4 separate regions of the Homo sapiens genome follow, and all the other regions are linked to region 1. Evidence: promoter capture Hi-C in 16 types of primary human blood cells and fetal thymus (Javierre and others, 2016). All regions are on one chromosome and are shown on one strand. The core of a region is centred on a gene start or on the middle of the fragment in contact, and the rest is flanking DNA. Distances in the headings are between cores, read along the strand shown. Region 1 holds the start of VTA1 (vesicle trafficking 1). Region 2 overlaps CCDC28A (coiled-coil domain containing 28A). Region 3 holds the start of ABRACL (ABRA C-terminal like). Region 4 has its middle 5.3 kb from the start of HECA.

Region 1 (5,189 bases), core at 1,179-3,678:
AGACTAAGAGTTCAAGACCTGCCTAGGCAACAAAATAATAATAATTAGCCATAGTGTTATGTGCCTGTGGTCCCAGTTACTCAGGAGGCTGAGGCAAGAAGATCCTTGAGCCCAGGAGTCCAAGACTGCAGCGAGCTCTGATAGTGTGCTGCACTCCAGCTTAGGTGACAGAGTGAGAACCTGTCTAAAAAAAAAAAAAAAAAAAGAAAGAAAAAAAGAAGGAAGGAAGGAGAAAAGAAAGAAAAGAAAAGAGCATGTGTTGGCAGATCAGAGAGTAAAATCCAACTCCAACCATTTCACTTTCTTATTTTTCCCTCAGTCCTGCTCATGAGGGTATGCAAATAAGAGTACACATGAATGTATGCAAATGAGAAAGAGTGGCAAAATTCACTTCTGAAGGGGGAGATCAGGAGAGTAACAGGAGGGTGCAGCCTTCTACCAGGAAGAGGAACATTTGTTTCTCAGACATAAGATGATGGAATAGAGAAAAGATAAAACATAAGATCTAGAAAGACATCATAGTCAAGTAGTAATGGCTAGGTGCACAGGCTCTGAAACCAAAATACCTAGATTTTAATGTGGAATACTCATCCTTCCTGGCTGTGACCTAGTGCAAGTTATCTAGATTCTATGTGTCTTATTTTTCTCATCTGTAAAATAATAATGATATGTTCCTCATAGGGTTGTGGTGCAAATTAAATAAATTAATATAAAGACCCTAGAAACATGCATGATACATAGTTGATGCTCAGCAAATGCTGCTAGCTAGTTATTATTACTTTAAGTTGTGGTAGAGGCAAGGCAAAATAATTCATATCTGGTGGTGGCCTTAATCTCAATAGCAGGAAATGCTGTTGTAGACCAAGGAAATTGGGGCTGAGTGCCTAGCTTGAATAGAGCGAGAGAAGTTTGAAACACCATCTGTGGACTACAGCACTGGTCCTTAACCCTAGACGTAACATTAAAATTACATGAGGACCTTTTAAAGATACTGACATTTAGGATCCCACCTAGAACAATTAAGTGAGAATGCCTGGAGTGGGCTTTAAAGTTGATCTTTAAGGGCAGCTGCGGTTGAGAATCAAGAAGTAATAGGAAACAAATAAATGAAAAGTTGTGAGTATAGAAAGAAAACAGTTATGGTTATCCAACTCTGCTTTTCTTCATTGATTTCTCTACCAATCTAGCAACTTTTGACTGGAAAGTCCAAATAGTGGGAGTAAGAGAAAGAGAAAGAAACCATACATTCTCCAGTGGTAGGAAATATGCCGCTGAGATTGGGGAAGAAGACAGAACTGAGTTTCAGGCTGAGTAAAAAAGCCCGACCCAGAATAAGATGATGGACTTTGCAAATAGGTCTAGGCAACGTATGTGGAGTGGGATAATATGAGGACATGGAGCGGTTTCTTCTGGGGGTGAGAGAGTGATCAGAAAATAGTAGGCAGAGGGGAATTTCCGAGCTGGAGATTTTGGCTCTTGGGGATAGTGTGATTTCAGTGAAAACTAGTTTTAAGATGAATTGTCAAAACTGAGGACTGAGATAAAATAAAGAAGGTTATTGGAGGAAGTAAATAAAGTGTACAGTCCTGAAAGATATAAGTAAGGGATGGAGAGGAGAGGAAGAGAATTGAAGTCATTGAGGGTAGAAGGAAAAGTGATGCCTACTGTACAATGGTTAAGAGTTACCAGCGTTGAAAACGTCCCAAACACCCTATCTTACATTAAGACAAGATAATAAATATGAAAATACTTTACAAATTGTTAATCACTCTCCAGAAAAAAAAAAGGTGATCTACAGATTATTCATTCACTAAAATACGTACTAGCCAGCTGAGAACAAAAGTTCAATCTTCTTTAAGCTTCATATGTTTAGCTTAATTTGGCGCGAAATCTGATTATTTTATCCAGTATGTCAACATAGAAAAATTTAATTTACAATTTAAACACATTATTTCTCTCTCATGCAAGTATTGAAATTAAAGTTTCTAAAATCAAAAAGGCTTCTAAAGGACACTGCTATATGGAATATTAATGTGGCATATTAACTGGAAGTGGTAATTCCTGAATGACGCCAAAGGCAATTCTCGCCTTTATACTTTCTCCCAGTCAACATACATTATTTTCTTGTTTTTCCTTTTCTATCCTTCCTTTTGCCACAAACAACAAACCAAACAAAAAAGCAAAACAAAACAAAAACCCTTCCTCCTACCAGCAGAGAGCGCTAGCGCCATGCGCGGCATAAGCGCCAAAATGCTCGGGTCTTCTGTGGGTTCTAACCGCCGAGAGCCAAGCACCCTGAGGTTGTCCCAGCTGGGGATCCGTAGTTGACTTGACGTCGCTGAGCAACGGAAGAGTGGGCAGCATTTGCTCTGAACGCTCGTGCGCGCTACCGCCCAGACGGAAGCGGAAGTGCCGGTGGAGCGCGAGTAGGAAGTGGTGAGTTCGGAGTAGAGATGGCCGCGCTTGCACCGCTGCCCCCGCTCCCCGCACAGTTCAAGAGCATACAGCATCATCTGAGGACGGCTCAGGAGCATGACAAGCGAGACCCTGTGGTGGCTTATTACTGTGAGTCTTTCCGAGTGGCCGCGCCCTTTCTTTCCCAGTTGCATTTTAGGGCCCACACACCTCCCTGAGGTTCTTGGGGCATGCCCCGCCCCCCTCGCTTTAAACCTGAGCTTTGACCTCGAGCCTACCCAGGGAACTCCCTGGGTTCCCACCCCCTGGCAGTAGGAATCCCAAAACACCATGGTGTCCACTGCTTCTCCTATCTTGTGCTTAAATGCTCCAGTACTGACTACACAGGCTCTTGAACTGTGGAATATAATCTTCCAAGGTTTTCTCTGTGTGTGTACACACAAGAGCTTCTTGTCTCAAATAGGAATCCTGAAAATAAATTGAGTTAGGTTTAAAACGAAGGTGAGTGTCCGAAAGAAGGAGTGATGTGGATAAAAGGACGATAGACTAGTTGAAAACATAGTAATAAGTGAATATTATTTATGACAGCATGCAAGCCCAATCAGAAACTCATTTGGTTAAATGGGGAGTATCTGCTACTAAATAAGCAGTTGAATTTGACCTTTCCCCACCCAGCTGCTCTCTCCTACCATGCAGAATTTTTAGTTTTGACTTCTTTGAATAATACCCGCTGTTGAGACCTTTGAAAGCAGTATTTTCACTTTGAGTGTTATACGTTGAATTTACAGTTTGATTAAAAAAAATATAGGTTAACTCTGCTCAAACTTGTAGTGAGTAAAGGGAGTGCCAGTAATTCTGTGTTAACTTTATTTTGTATTCTGTACTCTTAACTTTACTGCAAATAAAACAAGTAACTGGACAATTATAATTCTGAAAAGGATATTTAGAGTTGAGAAGTTGGATATAATGCGTCCATTGTTGTGTATATTGTAAGGTTAGCTAAAATCTGGTCACTGTTATCTCTGCCATACTCCAAATGTACCCTGTTTCTCAAATGTGCAAGGCCTTTTCAGACCTACCATCTTCCACTCTCTTGGAATGTGCACCTTTTTCTTGCACTTGGCAAACTCATGATTCAAGATCTAACCCAAATGTCACCACTTCTGTGGGCAGCAAATTGATTATTCTCTGTGCATTACTTCATTTTGTTCAAATTTTACAGCATCATTTTTATTATACTTGTTCTTCAGTTTCCTCAAGCAGGGTCCATATTCATTCAGTATGTGTTCATTGAGCTACCTTTGTATCAAGCATTAGTAGGCGCTGTGACTACATTTGCTGCATTTTTGGAGCTTACATACAATGGAGGTAGAGAGTTTCAACAATATAGAGTCTATCATACATAGAGTATTAAAAGCTTATGAAGACAAATAGAGCAAGGAAAAGGAATAAGAGTATCAGGAGTAGTGGTGGCAGGGAGTGCAGATGGGATTTCAGTTTCATAGTGGTCAGGAACACTTCACTGAATTGACATTTGGGGAAATAAAAGAGTGAAAGGCATACCTTGCACCATCTGGGAAAGAGTATTCTCCATAGAGGTTATAAAAGTCCCGAAGTAGAGGCTTGCTGGAAGGAGGAGTAAGTAGACTATTGTGACTGGAGTGGATGGGGCTTGGGAGTGATGGGATAAGGTCAAAGAATCTCTCATCCCTAAAGGAAATTCCTGTTCCCGATCCCTGTATCATGTATCTTTGTGACAAACCAGGGACACCTTACTCACTGTCGTCCTTTCCCTCTAGATTTTTCTAAACCTAATCCAGTTTCCTTTATTTAAAAATATAACATAAACTCTCACCATATCATTCCCTAAAGTTGCAGCTCTGCTTTTCCAGCCTTATAGGTAAGTTTGAAATAGTTGTCCATAAGTTAGCTTTACGCCTTTATCTTGTAGAGCCTTTCAGCCCATGCAGTCTGGTTTTCATGCCCAGTATTTCACTGAAACTGCTCTCATCAGGCTTATGAAGAAATATTTTTATTGCTCAGGTGACACTTAACAATTTTAGTTATGAAACATGTACATATAAAAGCATATGTAATGTGCAGACAGTTTAAGGAATAATAAAATGAACACTAATATGCCTATCACATTTGATGTTATTAAACTTTTTAATTTTTGACAATCTGGTGGGTGTGAAATGGTGGTGTCTCATTGGAGCGAAATCTGCAATTCTCTGAGTCTTAATGAGGTTTAGCATCTTTTCATATGTTAATTAACCATTTGTGATTCGGTTTTGAAATACTTGTTTATTGCTTTTGCCCATTTATCTGTCACAGTCTTGTCTTAATAATGTTAGATGTTAATCCTTTGTTATATGTGTTGTAAATATCTTCTCCCATTTCAGTTTGATTTTTCACTCTGAAGACCTTTGATGTTCAGAAGTTCTTAATTTAAAAATGTTATCAATCATTGTATGAATCTCTTAGGACTTAACCTTCTGATTTTATAGGCTTTCATTTCTTTTCGTGTATTTGTTTGGGACTTTGGCTTTCTACATCTGTAGATGGGTGTTTTTAATCAATTTTGGAAAATTTTCTCTACTATTATTTGTTCAAATATTGCTTATATTTCTATTCTCTCATAAAAGTTTGATTAGACATGTTTTGCACTTCTCCCATTTAACTTCCTTGTCTCTTGATTCTGTCATTTTTTTTTATCTCTTTGTCTTTCTGTGCTGCATTCTGTGTAATTTCTTGAGGTTTATCTTCACCTCCCT
Region 2 (5,189 bases), core at 904-3,403, 3.4 Mb before region 1:
GGGGATTTTTTTAGAATACAAATTCCACAGCAGTGTGGGATGGGGGGCTTCAGATGAGCATTTCTAAGAAGCTCACAAGTGAGATTGATTCTATGGGTCATGGGCAGCACTTTGAGTAACAAGGTATTACATAATGTATGTAATACATAAAATGCAGCCCTTGCTTTGGGAAGAACTGTTATTGACCTACTGTCAACAATGTATGTATTCTAAACTTCTTTCATATTATAGTCTCTTTCTTGTATCCCCCCCTCACCTACTTTCCCTGGGCATATATATACCCTATTTATCTTATTGTGGTGAGGACAGCTGTGTTGAAGATGTCTTCATTCAACATTATGTTAAAATTGAGTACTGAATATACTTCCGTGTCGGGATTTGTAGTGTGCATTGGGTTATAAAGATAAATTACTCTTTCTCCCATTTTGCCAATTTAGCCCCTACTTGTTCTTTAAGTCTTTGCTCACTTATCACTTTTAGGAAGCCTTCTCTGGTTGGTCCCACGCTGAACGAACTGCTTCTCTCTCTTCCTATATCGCAGTGCGCATAACATCATCACTCAACTATTTGAGAGCCTGGTATATGCCAGACATGTGTAATAAGGACTAGTTTAGGCTAGGGGTTCCAAAAAGGCCTTCCTGAGGAAATAGCATTTAAACTGAGACTTGAAGATGTGTGGGAGGTAGCATGCCAAAGATGGCAGTAAGTGGAAGGATGCTAATGTAGGCAGAGGATTAGCACGTAAGAAGATAAGATAATGGATTTCTAGGAAACGAAAGAGATTCAGTGGCTAGAGCATAGATGAGGATAGGGTTTCTTAGGGATATTAGATTATATTCAGCAGGCAATGCAAAGCTACTAAAGCTTTTTTTTTTTTTTTTGACACGGAGTCTCGCTCTGTCACCCAGGCTGGAGTGCAGTGGTACAATCTCAACTCACTGCAACCTCCACCTCCTGGGTTCAAAGGATTCTCCTGCCTCAGCCTCCCAAGTAGCTGGGACTACAGGTGTGCACCACCACACCAGGCTAATTTTTGTATTTTTAGTAGAGACAGGGTTTTGCCATGTTGGCCAGGTTGGTCTTGAACTCTTGATCTCAGGTGATCCTCCTGCCTGGGCCTCCCAAAGTGTTGGAATTATAGGCACGAGCCACTGTGCCCGGCCTACTGAAGCATTTTTAATTAAGCAAATTGTATGATCTGATTTTACTTTTTGGAAATGGACTTGGCTGCCCGGTGGGGAGAGAAGGGAGATCAGGGATCACAGAGATAGGGAGACTGGTTGGGAAGCTATTTGGTTAAGAGATGGGATGGTGGCATGGGAGAAAGAGAACTGGAGAGATTAGATATTTTGTGGGTATAATTGATAGGACTTCATGACTGCATGTAGGAGCCTTAGGAAGTTAGAGGAGTCAAGGATGATAACAAGTTTTTAGTATTCCATTACATGGTGATTATGAATTTAAATATCTTCCCTTCTCTTTAGACGGGGCATTTGTGGATAATGTTGGCTACAGAGTAGGGACTCCAAAACCATATGTAGAACTACTGAGAGTTCAAGGAACAAATAAAGTTTAGAAGGGAAAGGTGTAATATGTTTTACTGAGAAATGAAATGTAAAGCATAGGATAATACAGACTTACAAGTTTTCTTTTCTGCAGTCCAAAGAATTAGCATATTATATAAATGTATTAATCAAACTTTTTATATGCCTTTGTAGTTATATTTTATACATTTGTTTGAGGTTTTTCACAACCTTTTTTTTCTTTTGGTTTCTGGCTTGGAGTTTCTGGTTTTGTTTAGTATTGACTCTATTTGATTTCTTGCTTTTAAGGGAAATTCCATTTACTTCACTAAAAAATTAAGCAAAAGCTTAATCTAGAATAGCCTAAAAAGCCTAAATTTCATCGTCTTTACAGAGTGATGAAAGAAAAGACCAAACCTCAGGGTGGAGAGGGCAAAGGCGCTCAGTCAACTCCGATCCAGCACTCCTTCCTCACTGATGTCTCAGATGTTCAGGAGATGGAGAGAGGGCTGCTCAGTCTTTTGAATGATTTCCACTCTGGAAAACTTCAAGCATTTGGTAAGCAATAGATGTTTCTGTATTATTTTTTTCTCTAAGATGTTTGCATCCTGTTTTCTGTGTGTATTTTACTCTTCTTTTCAAAGTGCCAGTTTCTTTTAAGAAAAAAAGAGCCCACAGGCATAAAGGCAATCATCCTAGATTTTGTCTTAGAATATAATTTGCCTTCTAAAACTTCTGGGAAAAAGTTTTTTTTTAAGAGGGAGGGTTAGTTGAAATGTTGAAGTAGGATTGCCATTATGGAATAAGTATCTTGCAAGTTTAACAAATAAGAGGGACAGTCTTGGTCAGTTAAAATATTTTAGACTTAGTGTCTTCGTTTTGAAAGTATCAAGATCATTTTCCCTTACCCTCTTAAGCTTAAACTTGTTTCTTGCCTGGGATTCCTGATTTAAAGTTAGGAATTAAAAGAATCCAGTTTTCTTGTTTTTTCATGAGGATATAAGAATAGTTAACTGATTGTCCCATTAAAAATTCTGAATAGGTATTTTTTCGTAGTCACAGAGTTCACAAAAGATAGTCAGATTTTTCATGTGCAGTCTGGAACTTATTTGTAAGCTTTTTCTAATGATAAGATTATTTCCCAATTTTTTTTTTTTTTTTTTTTGAGACAGAGTCTGGCTCTGTCGCCCAGGCTAGAGTTCCATGGCACGATCTCGGCTCACTGCAACCTCCACCTCTCGGGTTCAAGTGATTCTCCTGCCTCAACCTCCCCAGTAGCTGAGACTACAGCCATGTGCCACGGCCAGCTAATTTTTTGTATTTTTACTAGAGACGGAGTTTCACCGTGTTAGCCAGGATGGGTCTCCATCTCCTGACCTTGTGATCTGCCCGCCTCGGCCTCCCAAGGTGCTGGGATCGCAGGCGTGAGCCACCGCGCCTGGCCTATTTCTCAATATTTTAAAAAGCAATTTCAATAATATGCATAATCTTTTTAAAAAATTTTAACTTCCCCAGTTTTTTAGAAGATGCATAATCTTATACAAATGCATAAATGTCCACATACATATTGATTTTTTAAAGTATTCTTTCCCTCCCCAATGTTTTTGTTACTTAACTTCCCCATTCCCTCTTATCCCTTCTGCTACTTCCACTTCCCCTCATCCCAGCCATTTGTTAACAGTCCAGGTGTATATCCTTTCATATTTTTATTTTCATTATTTAATACAAATGGTATACAAGATATTCTGTGTCTTGCTTTCCTGCACTAAAGAATATCTGATGGAAATCTCTCTAATGCACCTAGGATTGCTCTAGTTCATTCTTTTTTAATGGCAACATAATATTCCAAGTTGTGAATATACTCTAGTTTATTCAACTATGTCCCTATTGAGAGGCATTACTTTGTTTCTCATTTTGAGCCACCAAACACAATGGCATAGTCAACATCTTTTTACACAGATCTTTAGGCTGGTGCCTCTATTCTTTTGGGATTGATTCTCATGAGTGGGATTGCTGGGTCAAAGCATATATGTAATTTTAACTTTAATAGAAGTATGCAGATTGCTTTGCAAAAAGAACAATACCGCACTTCTAGGTTCCATAAATAATTTATGAAAAAATGCTTTTCCTTGAATTCCCGCCAAGCAGTAGGTATTATTCGTCTTTTAATTTTTGCCAGTCTCTTGGTGTAAAGTGAGATGTCTTTTATTACAATTGAGTTTGAAGATCCGTGTGTGTTTGGTAGATTGTTTGATAGGTCCTTTTCAGGACCTTTTGTCAGTTTTCTACTTGGTTATTTATCCTTTTGTTGTTGTCACTTGTAAAGAGCCCTTTGTGTTTTAGATACTAACCCTCTGACCTCTATTATGTATTTATTTTTGTCTACCAAATTTGTTGTGTCTGTGCACTTTGTTTATGGTATATTTAACCTTGTAAAAGTTTTTACTTTTTGCATTCTCAAACATGTCTGTATCTTTTCTTTCAATAGTTGCTGGGTTTCCAGTCTTGGTTATGCTAATATTTGAAAAGAAGATATTAAAAGCAGATTATTTATTTCACAAAAATACTTTATTGTACCCCTACCTCCTTGCTTTAGCCCATCCCAGTAAGGTGGTATCTTCAGAGTATTTTCACTTCCCCTCTCTTCCCTTCTTCCCTCCTACCCTTGAGATGTAATCTTTGGACCACTTCCACGTCTTTGCTTTTTCCCAGCACCTTTCCTCCCCTACTCTATGTTGCCTTTGTGTTTTTGGATTGAAGTCCTTTCTTGTCTTTGTCTGTTATCCTACTGATTACTCTTCATAATAAGTGTTGCAGATGAGAATTCCATTGCCAGTCAGAGTCTTTCTTAGCAGGTAATTTATATTTTTCTGTCTCGATGATTAAAAGATGTTTTTCTTTTATCTTTAAAGGTTAGGCATTTTCCAGGATATGCTTAGGACTGTGTCTTTTCTCATCAATCTGCCTGGGAATCAGTGAGCCCTTCATATCTGCTGACTCATCTTTCATCTCACGTAACATATTTTCTATTGTTTATTATTTTTCTTCCATCTCTTCCTTTTTAGCCTCTGAAGCTTCTATTGTTCTCATGGTAGGTCACCTAGATCCGTCCTCTGACTCTCATCTTTTCCCATATGATTTCTACCTCTTTATATTTTTACTGTACATTTACATACATAAACACAAACATACATACATACACACAAACACGTATCTTGAGATATTTCTGTTTCTTCCACTTGACCTTCCAGGTTACTAATGTTGAAAAACATGACTAAAATAGAGGAAATATGACATATTTTACTGTGAAGAAAGGACGATTTTGAGAGAGCCATAACTAGCTTCAACATTAGTAGTCCTTAACATAATGTCGTATAGTCCATTTATGAAGATGTTATAAAGCTGGCTAGAGGAAACTAGCATAATTTACATTAATTCATATTTATTTAGGATATGTACTTCAACTTTAGCTGAGGTATATTTTACCTGTATAGTACCTTTAGGAAAAACAGAAAGGTTTTTTTTTTAAAAAATTCTACTATCAAGGGATTGCAGAGTCTGTACTTAAACTGAATGAAAAGATAATACGTTATGTGTATAAATTAGTTGCTCTGGGCAGATAATGTCACTTCAGAGGACTCTTGGTCAATATGTAATGTAAGACCT
Region 3 (5,189 bases), core at 1,287-3,786, 3.1 Mb before region 1:
AAAAATGTGGCTACTAGAAATTTTAAATTGGACGTGTTGTTCACAATTTTATTTCCTTCGGACAGTGCTGGTCCGAATTAAATACATGCAATTAAATTACAATGCATGCAATTAAATACATGGATAAGGATTGTTTTAATATTTCAAATGTACATTACTTGCAGTTCTGTTTGACAAAGGACAGGTCATGGGCTACTTTGGACGATTTAGTATTGGCACTTTGTGGCTGGCACATTTATTTAAAATATATTAAATACTCTTTAATTTGATAAATTGTATTATTTTCTTTTTAGGTTAAACTTCCACATTGCTTACATTGTACATGATGATATTCCTGAGGGAATAAGAATAGATAACAAAAGTCTATTTGGAAATTGAAGGACTAGGATTGGATATGAAAAATATTAGTTAAGATTTTTTAATATTTCTTTTATCAAAACAGCTTTCTTTTTTCTTTTCTTTTCTTTTCTTTCCTTTTTTTTTTTTTTTTTTTTTTTTGAGATGCAGCCTCACTCTGTTGCCCAGGCTGGAGTGCAGTGGCACGCTCTTGGGTCACTGCAACCTTCGCCTCCTGGGTTCTAGTGATTCTTCTGCCTCAGCCTCCAGAGTAGCTGGGATTACAAGCATGTGCCACCACGCCTGGCTAATTTTTGTATTTTTAGTAGAGACGGGGTTTTGCCATGTTGGGCAGGCTGGTCTCGAACTCCTGACCTCAGGTGATCCGTCCACCTTGGCCTCCCAAAGTGTTAGGATTACAGGCATGAGCCACTGCGCCCAGCCGACAAAACAATTTTCTTAAATTGTAATTCCTTATAGATTAACATAAAGCTTGTGTTATACTTAGTTTAGCACATGTGTAAACAAAGTATCTTTTGGGTGAGTTTATTTTTATATTAACAAGGATGTTTACTTCTTTAGGTAAAGTAACCTATTTCTTTTTCTTTGGTTGGCAATTAGGGCAATACTAATTACCTAATCATAACAGAAGCGGTGCTCTCCAGACTCATTATTCCTATCATTGGATATTATCTGACTGATGAATTGTGATCCCTGTCACAGGCCAAAATAGCGAGGTCCTGCTTCGATAATTGCTAAATATATTTTTCTTGAATTATATATTTTTTGCCTTATGTCGACTGTGAAAGATATAAACTATAACTTCTCACCTTTCTTTTGGTGAGAAAAAAATAGGCCTCAATCATTTTGGTAACAATATAAAACAAGTAAAAGAAAAAAATAGGTCTGAAAAGATCTTGGAGTCACCTTAAACTTTATCTGCCATGAGACACTTAGAAGAATCAGACCTTTGTTGAAGATTACAGAACAGAGACTCCTTCAGTCACACCCAGGAGACAGGTATTCACCGTAAAGACTAGAATGAAGCGTGGGAAGTGGATGGATCCAGTGCAGCCCCAGGGAACTGAACACTCACATGCCCCTGGGAAGCAGGTCTTTGTTGCTCTCCTTCCATCACTTGGTCTCAGCTTGTCTTTGACTGGCTTCTACCACTTGTGCCTCCACCCAACCTGCTGCTACATTCTCCTGGTTTCTGCTTACTCAAATGTTTTGCATCCGAAGCCCATTTTGGCCCCTTCTGCCTTACCCTCTCTTAGCTCCAACCTTTCTCTTACATCAGACAGCTCCGTCTCTGCATTCTCCACTTTCCATTTCCAAGGGAGTGTCTGATTGGCTTACTAACTATCAGAGTCCGTGTTTGATGAGAACTGTTTGCTCCAGGTCACCTCACAGGATGATGACTACATCACGGATTGTGCGCTCTTGGGTCACGCGATCACTCTTAATTTAAATTAGCTGGGCTGGGGGTGGGGAGGGGGTAAGGAACGTTTTTTGTAGTTATTTGTGCAACCCCTGCTCTAGAAATAGTTTGGGTAACTGTTTCCTTTCCAAAAGGACTCTCTGGGTACGGTAAGCATCTCTCTCTCACACACGCATATATTAAAATAACAGTGACTAAAACAAAGGGAGCATGAATAAATTGAATTATGAAGTTAAATGTATGAAATAATGAATGAACAAGGGAAGAAACCGATACTGACCCAGGGTCAACAACTATCTATGTCCAAGTAAAATTTCTTTGCAGTCTGACAAATTGGCTTTCAAGATTGCATTTTGTTTTGCGAATTAAGCCATTTTTAAGTCATGAGTCGTAGTTTTCTGGAGGCCCCCGGCATCCGGAACCCATGAATGCCACGTTCTTTCTAGCAGCCTTCAGCAATTTGAGGGCGCTTTGTTTCTTACGTTGGGAGAGAAATCCATCAGGAAATCGACGCCCAGGATCAGATGCAGATCCTGGGATCCTTGGCTCTGAGTAGCACGGTGGAAAAGTGAGGTAATCCAGGCTCTGGGCCCGTTTTCCTAGGAGCCCAGGGCGCTTCACCTGTCTGCAGTCAGCCCCTTTCTTGGACGTCTCCTCCCCTGAGTTTCCTCCTCATAGGCTTGTCCCTGGGAGTGTGGGCGGCCCCTTTCTTGAGCGCAGAAACACTTACTTTTCCCCCTACCCTGCTCCTCCTCCTCCACAGCCGTCTTTCTCTTTGCCTCAGCCACTTCCTTCCTTGGCCTCACCCTCCCCAGTGCACTGAAGAAGGTAACCGGGTCCAGACCCACGCGGCGCCAGTTCTCCGGCGGGAAGGAAAACCGCGCAGAGAGGTGCGTGAGCGCCCGGGCAGATGTGGCTTAGGTAGCAGGGATGGACTGGGTGTCCGTGGTGCGCCGCCGGGCACCGCGGGCTGCGGTGAGAGTCGGGTCAGGAGGGGGCCGGGAGGGGGCTCAGGGCGCGCGGAAGCTGCGACCGGCTGGGCCGAGACCTCGCGGGTTGGGGTCCCGTGGGGCGCGCGCCGCCCACGCCCCCACCTCTCGGGTCGACTTCCGCACTCGGCTCACGTGACGTTTCGCCGGCCGGGGGCGGACTGGGAAGCCGGCAGAAATGGAACGATTTTTACCGCGGTGCGACGTGTCGGCTTTGCACTTGGCGGTGGTTCAGGAGCCAGTTCTGCAGAGCTGGGTGGGGAAGGGCTGGGGGCGAGAGGAGAGGCTGCCCCGAGGAACGTGGTGGCCTCAGGGCAGTGGACTCTGCAGCGCCGGAGGTGGGTGCGGCTCTGTGCGCTCCAGATCAGGGGGTGCAGAGTCGTGAGGGGACACCAGGGGCTCGTGGAGCCCGGGGCAGGGTCCGTTTTCGTCGCCCGGGTTGGGTGCTCGCTCTCGCGGCGCTTCGGGGCGCCCGGGCCACGGGGGAGGCAGACCCGCGGCGCCGGGCCGGGAGCTGCGGAGACAAAGACTTCCGGGACGCGGCCCTTCCCGGGCGCCAGCGGTGCCGCCCCGCCACGGGGGGCCCAGCCCCGCGCTCCCCAGCCCTGCACTGGTGCCGGCGGTGACCGTGTGATGATGGGCTGCAGGGCACGGGGTTAGGGGACCTCTACCAGGCAGAACCCCAAGCTGGTAGCAGAATGGCCAAATATGGAGTGAGCGCGCCCCAGACCGGAGGGAGTAAGGAGCCCAGTCACCCTTTGACCCGCACCAGCTGCTTGTCCGCGATTGCGAAGAAGGGCTGGGAAAACGTGCCCAGCCCGAGTGTGTAAAGTTGGTTCCTGATTCCGGACATACCTATTCCAGTAGGCTTTATTTCCTTGGATATTAGAAAATCTCCATGCATTGCCTCCAAACTTTTGAAAAATAACAATGCCCTGAGGGTCCTTAAATACATTCTAAAGTGTGTATTGGTGGTGAGTTTCGGGTTCTGCCCAGTCCTCCGACTTTCCGCTTCCTTTGTGTTTCCCACGCACAAAGCCGAAATCGATTCTGCGACAATTAGAGTGCCTGGCCGTCATCTACCTCGCCTTCCCTGGAGCCTTTTCCTGTCTTCTGGTCCAGCCGCTCACCATTAAGCTCTTCCCTTTAGACTTGCTCTGCTTCTCACCTCTCCTCATTGTTCTTTTCTTTTTTTTTTTCTTAGACATAGTTTCACGGTACTCGTGAGAATGTGTTACATTCGTATAACCAAATCAGGGTAATTGGTATATCCATCACCCTAAATATTTATCTCTTCTTTATGCTAGGAACATTCAACTTAACTTGCTTTTAGCCATTTGGAAGTGTACAATCCATTAATGTGAACTATAGTCACCCCACTGATCAATGCAACACCAGGTCTTATTTCTTCTGTGTTTATACCCATCAACCTCTCTTCACCCTCCGCCCCCTTCATTGTTCTTCATCTTGCTCTCTGCAGTCCTGGGATTCTGTCCTTATTATAAAAGGCCATGGGTCTTTAAAGGATTGTGTCACAATAGGTATTTTTCCCCCTTTGTCCCTCTCCTTCCTAAATAATAAATAAATAAAACGTCAAATTATGTATGCTAGCAATTGTTTTTAAACCTGTTATTTTCCTATTTATGGTGGTCTGGGCAGGGAGCCTTTCTTGCTTTGTAAGTGTTCTGCCTTGGTAAGAGCTCAGCATGTCACGTTTCATACAAATACCACTCACTATTATATTTAGTGTATTTGCATAATGGCAAAAGAGGAAGAGGAAGCGGGGAAACAGCCACCACGATGTGGTAGAGACAGCATTTAATTGTGGGGCATTAACCCCTGTTTCGTTATCCTTAAAATAGAGGTAAATAAATGCCTTGCAAGGTTCTTAGAACTACATGAATTAACGTAGATAAGGAGCCTGATGTGTAATTAATTATAAAGAAACGCTGGTTGCCTTTCATGCTTAAAATTGGATGAACGTACATCTGCTTACTATAATGCAGGTATGCGTACTATATATAATAGATGAATTTCCCCTTTGATGCTCATTATTCAATGAGAGCTAAGTCTGAAGTATGTTGCTGGAGGTGGGAGGAAGGAGCGAAGAAGGGTGTTAAAGAGATAACATCTTTCCGGGGTCGGGAATCAGAGAATCAGAGAATTGGAAAGTTCCTTAATTTCTTTGGACATTTTCATTCTCCCTCTGTCCAGTACAGGCTAATTTCCTCATCATCCCTCACAGATCCTTACTATGTCTGCATTAATATTTCTAGGAACAGGGTGCAAACTTTATTCATTGTTGGGCAATTTTAATTGCTAGATAACTTTTTTATATGGCTCTCAAATCTGCCTTTCTATTACACTTACCCATCCTACCCAGTAGAGGAACACAAAGACTATTCATATAAGTACATAAAAAA
Region 4 (5,189 bases), core at 1,140-3,639, 3.0 Mb before region 1:
TGACTCAAGTTTGGTCAAGGACGGAGTCTTTGTCACCCTCTCCATGTGGCCTCTCATCATTCCATAGTCTGGCTCAAGTTTCTTTGCAGCATGGTGGCTGGCTTTTGGGAGAGCAAAAGCAAATTTAGGGTCCAGACTAGAGCAATTGCACTTTTGCTGCATTTCTAATTGGTCAAAGCAAGTCACAAGGCCAGGTTAGATTTAAGGGGAAGGCAAACAGACTCCACCTTTTGAAGAGAGGAGTAGCACATTTGTGTTCATCTTTAATCCATGCAGTGCTATGTTTGCATTTAAGGACTTAGAACAAATATTCTGCAGGAGGAAAGGAAATCTTAAGACAAAATTCTATTCGAGATTGATTGAAATGAACTCCAGAACCATACATAGCAGTACTTATTACTGGACTAAATGTGAAACTGATTGTTCATGTGATGGTAAATTTTTGTTACCTATAACAATTACAGCATATTTGAAGTTTCTTAAAATGGAAGCAATACCATGAATGTTCAACTGTTTACATCATTTAGAATTAGTACTTAATGTATTATATCTTCTGACAGTTTCCGTTTTATAGTTTTGAAGATATTTCCCAAGAAGTTTTCTAAAGAACTGGTTGTTTACAAGAGGGATCCAGTATCTGTCTTTTCACCATTGTATCAATACTCACCTGATTGCTAGTGCCAGAAGTAGATTGTTTTCTTTTCTTTTTCTTCTTCCTTATTTTTTTTGAGATGGAGTCTCACTCTGTCGCCCAGGCTGGAGTGCAGTGGCACCATCTGGGCTCACCACAACCTCCGCCTCTCAGGTTCAAGAGATTCTCCTGCCTCAGCCTCCCGAGTAGCTGGGATTATAGGAGTGCACCACCACACCCAGCTAATTGTTATATTTTTGGTAGAGATGGCGGGGGTGGTTCACCATGTTGGCCAGGCTGGTCTCAAACTCCTGACCTCAAGTGATCTGCCTGTCTCAGCCTCCCAAAGTGCTGGGATTACAGGTGTGAGCCACTGTGCCCAGCTAGAAGTAGATTTTTGTTGTTGTTGTTCCAAGGCATTATTTCCCCTAAAAATATTCAGCAGGACTCTACTTCCGTAGAATGTTAATAAGCATTACATGTAAAAGGATTTATAGGTTATATACATTTGGGAAATTCTAAGTTGAGAGTAAACAGGTTTCTTTACTGCTGGACTTTTAGGATCTTTACTATGCTAATATATATTGTGACTCATACAATATACAGTGTTTCCTAGACTTATTTTACCACAGAAATAGAGGCACGTCTTATATAACTAGTGTTCCTCAGGATATTCTTGGTAGAAATCATTCCAAGTAGAAATAAAGGAGGAAGCTGAATCTTGAGAGAAAATTCTAGCCAAGATCAATCAAAATTAACTCCAGAAACAAGCAGAGCAGTAGCCTTAGCACTTAGAAAAAAAATAGGTGTTCTTGAAATAGATCCTCAGATCCAACAATGAACTAACTACACTGATTGTGTTTGTTCTAAAAGTCAATAGTTCTTTAACTACAGAGGCCTGAAACACTTAAGCCAAAGATCTTTTGCAAAAGTTATTGTAAATTCATGAAATTTTATCATCCAAGATCATCAAAGATTCATTAGTTGAAACAGCAGTGTGGAAAGGAAGAACTGGAATAAGGTCTTAATTTTTCCATGCTTTTTATCTTATAAACTAAACTCGAAGCCCTTGAAAATGAGAACTTAGAGTGCAAGCAGTATATGAAGATATTTGTGGTAGGTAGTTTCTAAGATGGTTTGTTGTTGTTGTTGTTGAAACAGAGTCTCACTCTGTCGCCCAGACTGGAGCGCAGTGGCATGATCTCGGCTCACTGCAACCTCCACCTCCCGGGTTCAAGTGATTCTCCTGCCTCAGCCTCCCAATTAGCTGGGATTACAGGTGCGTGCCACCACGCCCAGCTAATTTCGGTATTTTTAGTAGAGACAGGATTTCACCATCTTGGCCAGGCTCGTCTCAAACTCCTGAACTCGTGATCCACCCGCCTTGGCTTCCCAAAGTGCTGGGATTACAGGCGTGAGCCACTGTGCCCGGCCCTAAGATGGGTTTTAATGATCCCCATCCCTTGGTGTTCATGCCCTTGTGTAATTTCCTCCACCCAAGCTTTGGCTAAATCTGATGACTTGCTTCCAAGAAACAGAGTACAGCAAAATGATGGATGTTACTTCTGAGATTAGATTACAAAAAAGATTGGCATCTGTCTTGTTTACTCTCTCATGCTCCCTGTCTTTCTCCCTTGGATGAAACCAGCTGCCCTGTTGTGAGCTGCCCCAGGCTGAGGTTTCTGTGGTAAAGAACTGAGGGGAGGTCTGGGGCCAGCAGCCCACAAGGAATGTTGAATCCTTCTCGCAACCCTAGGACTGAGTTTGGAAATGGATCCTCCCCCAGTTGGCTGACTATAGCCTTCTGAGGACTCAGCTAAGCCATCCCAAGATTACTGATTCACAGAAACTGTGAGATAATAAATGTTTGTTGTTTTAAGCTGTTAAATTGTGGGGTCATTTGTTAGGCAGCAATAGATAATTAGCACCATATTAAAAGAGGCATTTAGAGAGGGCCAATGTTGTATTATCTAAGTCAAATCTTGCAGACAGCCTTCAGAAGCACTGTGGTTAAGTCAAGCTTTAGAATGGCAGAATAGAAAAGTGCTGATTTTAATTGGGCATAAACATAGGGGATATTGATAAAAACTAGATGACAAAAATCTTTGAGATTTCAGTGACACTCCAGAGGAGATATCAGAAATACAAGGTGTAGAAATGGATAATTCCATGGCCACTGCAATTGCTGATGAAGGTATTGCTATTATAGGGGTTCTTGTTATACAAATCTAGACCAAACTGAGCCATCCCTTTTTGGTTTAAATATTATGCTAGCTGAACATAAAAATGTGGTTTTAGAAGAATTCTTTTTTTCTTCATGAGATCTGGCTCAAATTATTCTTTTAGGTGCTCCTCTCCATTCTCTTTTATTGAATGAATATGTATTAAACACTTAACTATATGCCAGGCCCTGTTTTAGGTACAGAAGATTAACAGAGAAATCCTCACCCTCTTGAAACTTGCATTCTAGTGTGGAAGGACAGACAGTAAACAAAGTTAATAAACATAAAAATAAATCTCTTAGGCCGGGCGCGGCCTCTTAGGTGGCTCACACCTGTAATCTCAGCACTTTGGAAGGCCAAGGCGGGTGGATCTTAAGGTCAGGAGTTCGAGACCAGCCTGGCCAATATGGTGAAACCCCGTCTCTACTAAAAATACAAAAATTAGCTGGGCATGGTGTCGCAAACCTGTAATCCCAGCTATTCAGGAGGCTGCGGCAGGAGAATCACTTGAACCCGGGAGGTGGAGGTTGCAGTGAGCCGAGATTGTGCTACTGCGCTCCAGCCTTGGCGACAGAGCGAGACTCCGTCCCAAAAAAAAAAAAAAAAAAAAAAAGTAAATAAATCTCATGAAGGAAACGTTCTTTCGGGTTTACTGGGGCCTAAGATAGTATTGATGCTGAACTGGGACAATAGTATGAGCAAGGAAGGCACAGAGGTTCGAGTAAGCAGCAAGTTCAGGGATCACTGAAAAAAATTCTGACCCTTTTTTATGACTGCTTTTATAGATTATGAAAATAATGTAAAAGTCACAACTAAAGGATGGAAAAGAGATTTTAAGGGCAAATATTTGAGAAAAATATTAATATTGGTAATCGGGAACAGCCTAAAGGGAGAGTAGATCTATGGAATTTATTAATCAATATTATTATTTGCTTTAATATTCCATTTTTTCAAAGTTTTTATAATCACAATTGTCATTATTCCTCAAAGAAAACCTGTGGCCATAGGAAAGGCTATTTGCAGAAGAAAAAACTGATGCATGAAGACAATGCATTGCTCCAGGTGTATTTATTTGAAGTGACTTTTTAGCAGATCAGGCTTTAGTACCTTTTAGCTTATGTTTCAATTGTGGACATATTCTTGTGTGCATTACTGTGTTATCTGCAGAATTCCTTCTGAGTTCCAATATGATTTTTTCGATCAAGGTGTATTTGGATATTTGGCTTCTTACCTATGTTCTAAGTTTTCAATTATCCTTAACACATATATTTTGTACTTTAAACCTAACCAAACTTAGCTGACCCCAAGAGCTCAGAAGACAGCCACAAAATGTCAAATGAACAAAATTAGGGCACTGAAACAATGACTGCTTATTCCAGTTCAGCCTGAAGATTAGCCCACCCCTTTCTTAAGGGTGTAAATTGTTTGCTTTTGATGCCCTTGATTTGTTGCTGTGCTTTATTTTGTTTTCGCAGAGAAGTGAGCAATAGGGTGGGTGAGGTTTGGGGGAAGGAAACCTAGGATAGAGGTATAATTTTTTTGAAGTTTATATCAGAGCATGAGTTGATCAGGGAAATTGAAGAATGAGAAGGCAAGTGTAGATGTACAGAACAGAGTGGCTTCCTCAGTTCCTTGGAGTTCTTTATACTTCTGGAAGTTTCTAAGGGGAATGTTCCATTGTACCATCTGCCACCTTTTGTCTTTTGGTATGCTGTCTCTCTCTCTCACCTTCAGAAATGGTGGGAAAACGGCTAGGACAGCAGGATAGAACATAGGAAATGGAGTCCTTTAACTTCACCTACATTTTGTTCCTAACATCTTGATTTTAGTATATTGTCTTTGTAGCAATAAAATCGGAACTATTGCCTCTGCACCAAATTTGACTAAGGCTAAAAATAGATTAGCGAGGTTGAGCATGGAAGAAGTGGCAAGCTTCTCCTTCCTCCTTTTCATTTTGTTTCAGTTTGAATAGAAGGAGGTAGCTCACACAATTAACCAGAACAGCAACTGGCTGGATGTCTGGGTGCTTTGAGCCAATTAGGATATTTTTGTGGAAAGTTTCCAATTCTTAATTCTCAGTTATGTAGAGGTGGGAGGCAGCTGGTGTGAATGTCTGTCTGCAGGGTACATGCATACTAACTCTGATCCAATATGGCATGACAGCAATGTGCTTATTCAAGAAAATAATTATCTCAATTTTCTTGTACTCTAACCTAAAATGTCTTCGCCTTCACGACTTAAAAAAACAAAACAAAAAACCAGAAAAAAAAAAAGAAACGCCAAAGCTAACATCACCCACATATTTTGAGACCTCTAGTGGTATCAATAATGAAATT

Evidence for each region. Contacts are between HindIII fragments. The CHiCAGO score rates a contact against its expected background, and 5 or more counts as called.
Region 2: a fragment that was not itself captured here is called in contact with the fragment with the promoter of VTA1 in region 1 in 3 of 17 cell types (total B cells, total CD8 T cells and non-activated CD4 T cells); the score reaches 12.1 in total B cells.
Region 3: the fragment with the promoter of ABRACL here is called in contact with the fragment with the promoter of VTA1 in region 1 in 6 of 17 cell types (total B cells, non-activated CD4 T cells, naive CD8 T cells and 3 more); the score reaches 8.3 in total B cells.
Region 4: a contact is called between a fragment that was not itself captured here and the fragment with the promoter of VTA1 in region 1, in 1 of 17 cell types (total B cells). The highest score is 6.0, in total B cells.

Annotation. Positions count from the first base shown.
Region 1 is chr6:142,144,835-142,150,023 of GRCh38, forward strand. VTA1 (vesicle trafficking 1) reads left to right here and starts at 2,429. Exons shown (of 8, transcript NM_016485.5): 1 at 2,429-2,565. The coding sequence starts at 2,454. NMBR (neuromedin B receptor) reads right to left here and starts at 2,288. Exons shown (of 4, transcript NM_002511.4): 1 at 2,210-2,288. RefSeq lists enhancers at 2,158-2,452, 2,216-2,355, 2,610-3,130. The HindIII fragment of the contact is 1,973 bases long and covers 1,858-3,830 here.
Region 2 is chr6:138,777,905-138,783,093 of GRCh38, forward strand. It overlaps CCDC28A (coiled-coil domain containing 28A), which reads left to right. Exons shown (of 6, transcript NM_015439.3): 3 at 1,918-2,081. Among named protein-coding and RNA genes, the nearest start is that of CCDC28A, 6.7 kb to the left of the region's middle. RefSeq lists an enhancer at 130-299. The HindIII fragment of the contact is 570 bases long and covers 1,869-2,438 here.
Region 3 is chr6:139,026,209-139,031,397 of GRCh38, forward strand. ABRACL (ABRA C-terminal like) reads left to right here and starts at 2,537. Exons shown (of 3, transcript NM_021243.3): 1 at 2,537-2,667. RefSeq lists silencers at 2,701-2,860, 3,121-3,490, 3,540-3,730 and enhancers at 3,384-3,678, 3,501-4,320. The HindIII fragment of the contact is 5,437 bases long and covers 827-5,189 here.
Region 4 is chr6:139,127,144-139,132,332 of GRCh38, forward strand. No RefSeq gene overlaps it. Among named protein-coding and RNA genes, the nearest start is that of HECA, 5.3 kb to the right of the region's middle. The HindIII fragment of the contact is 519 bases long and covers 2,131-2,649 here.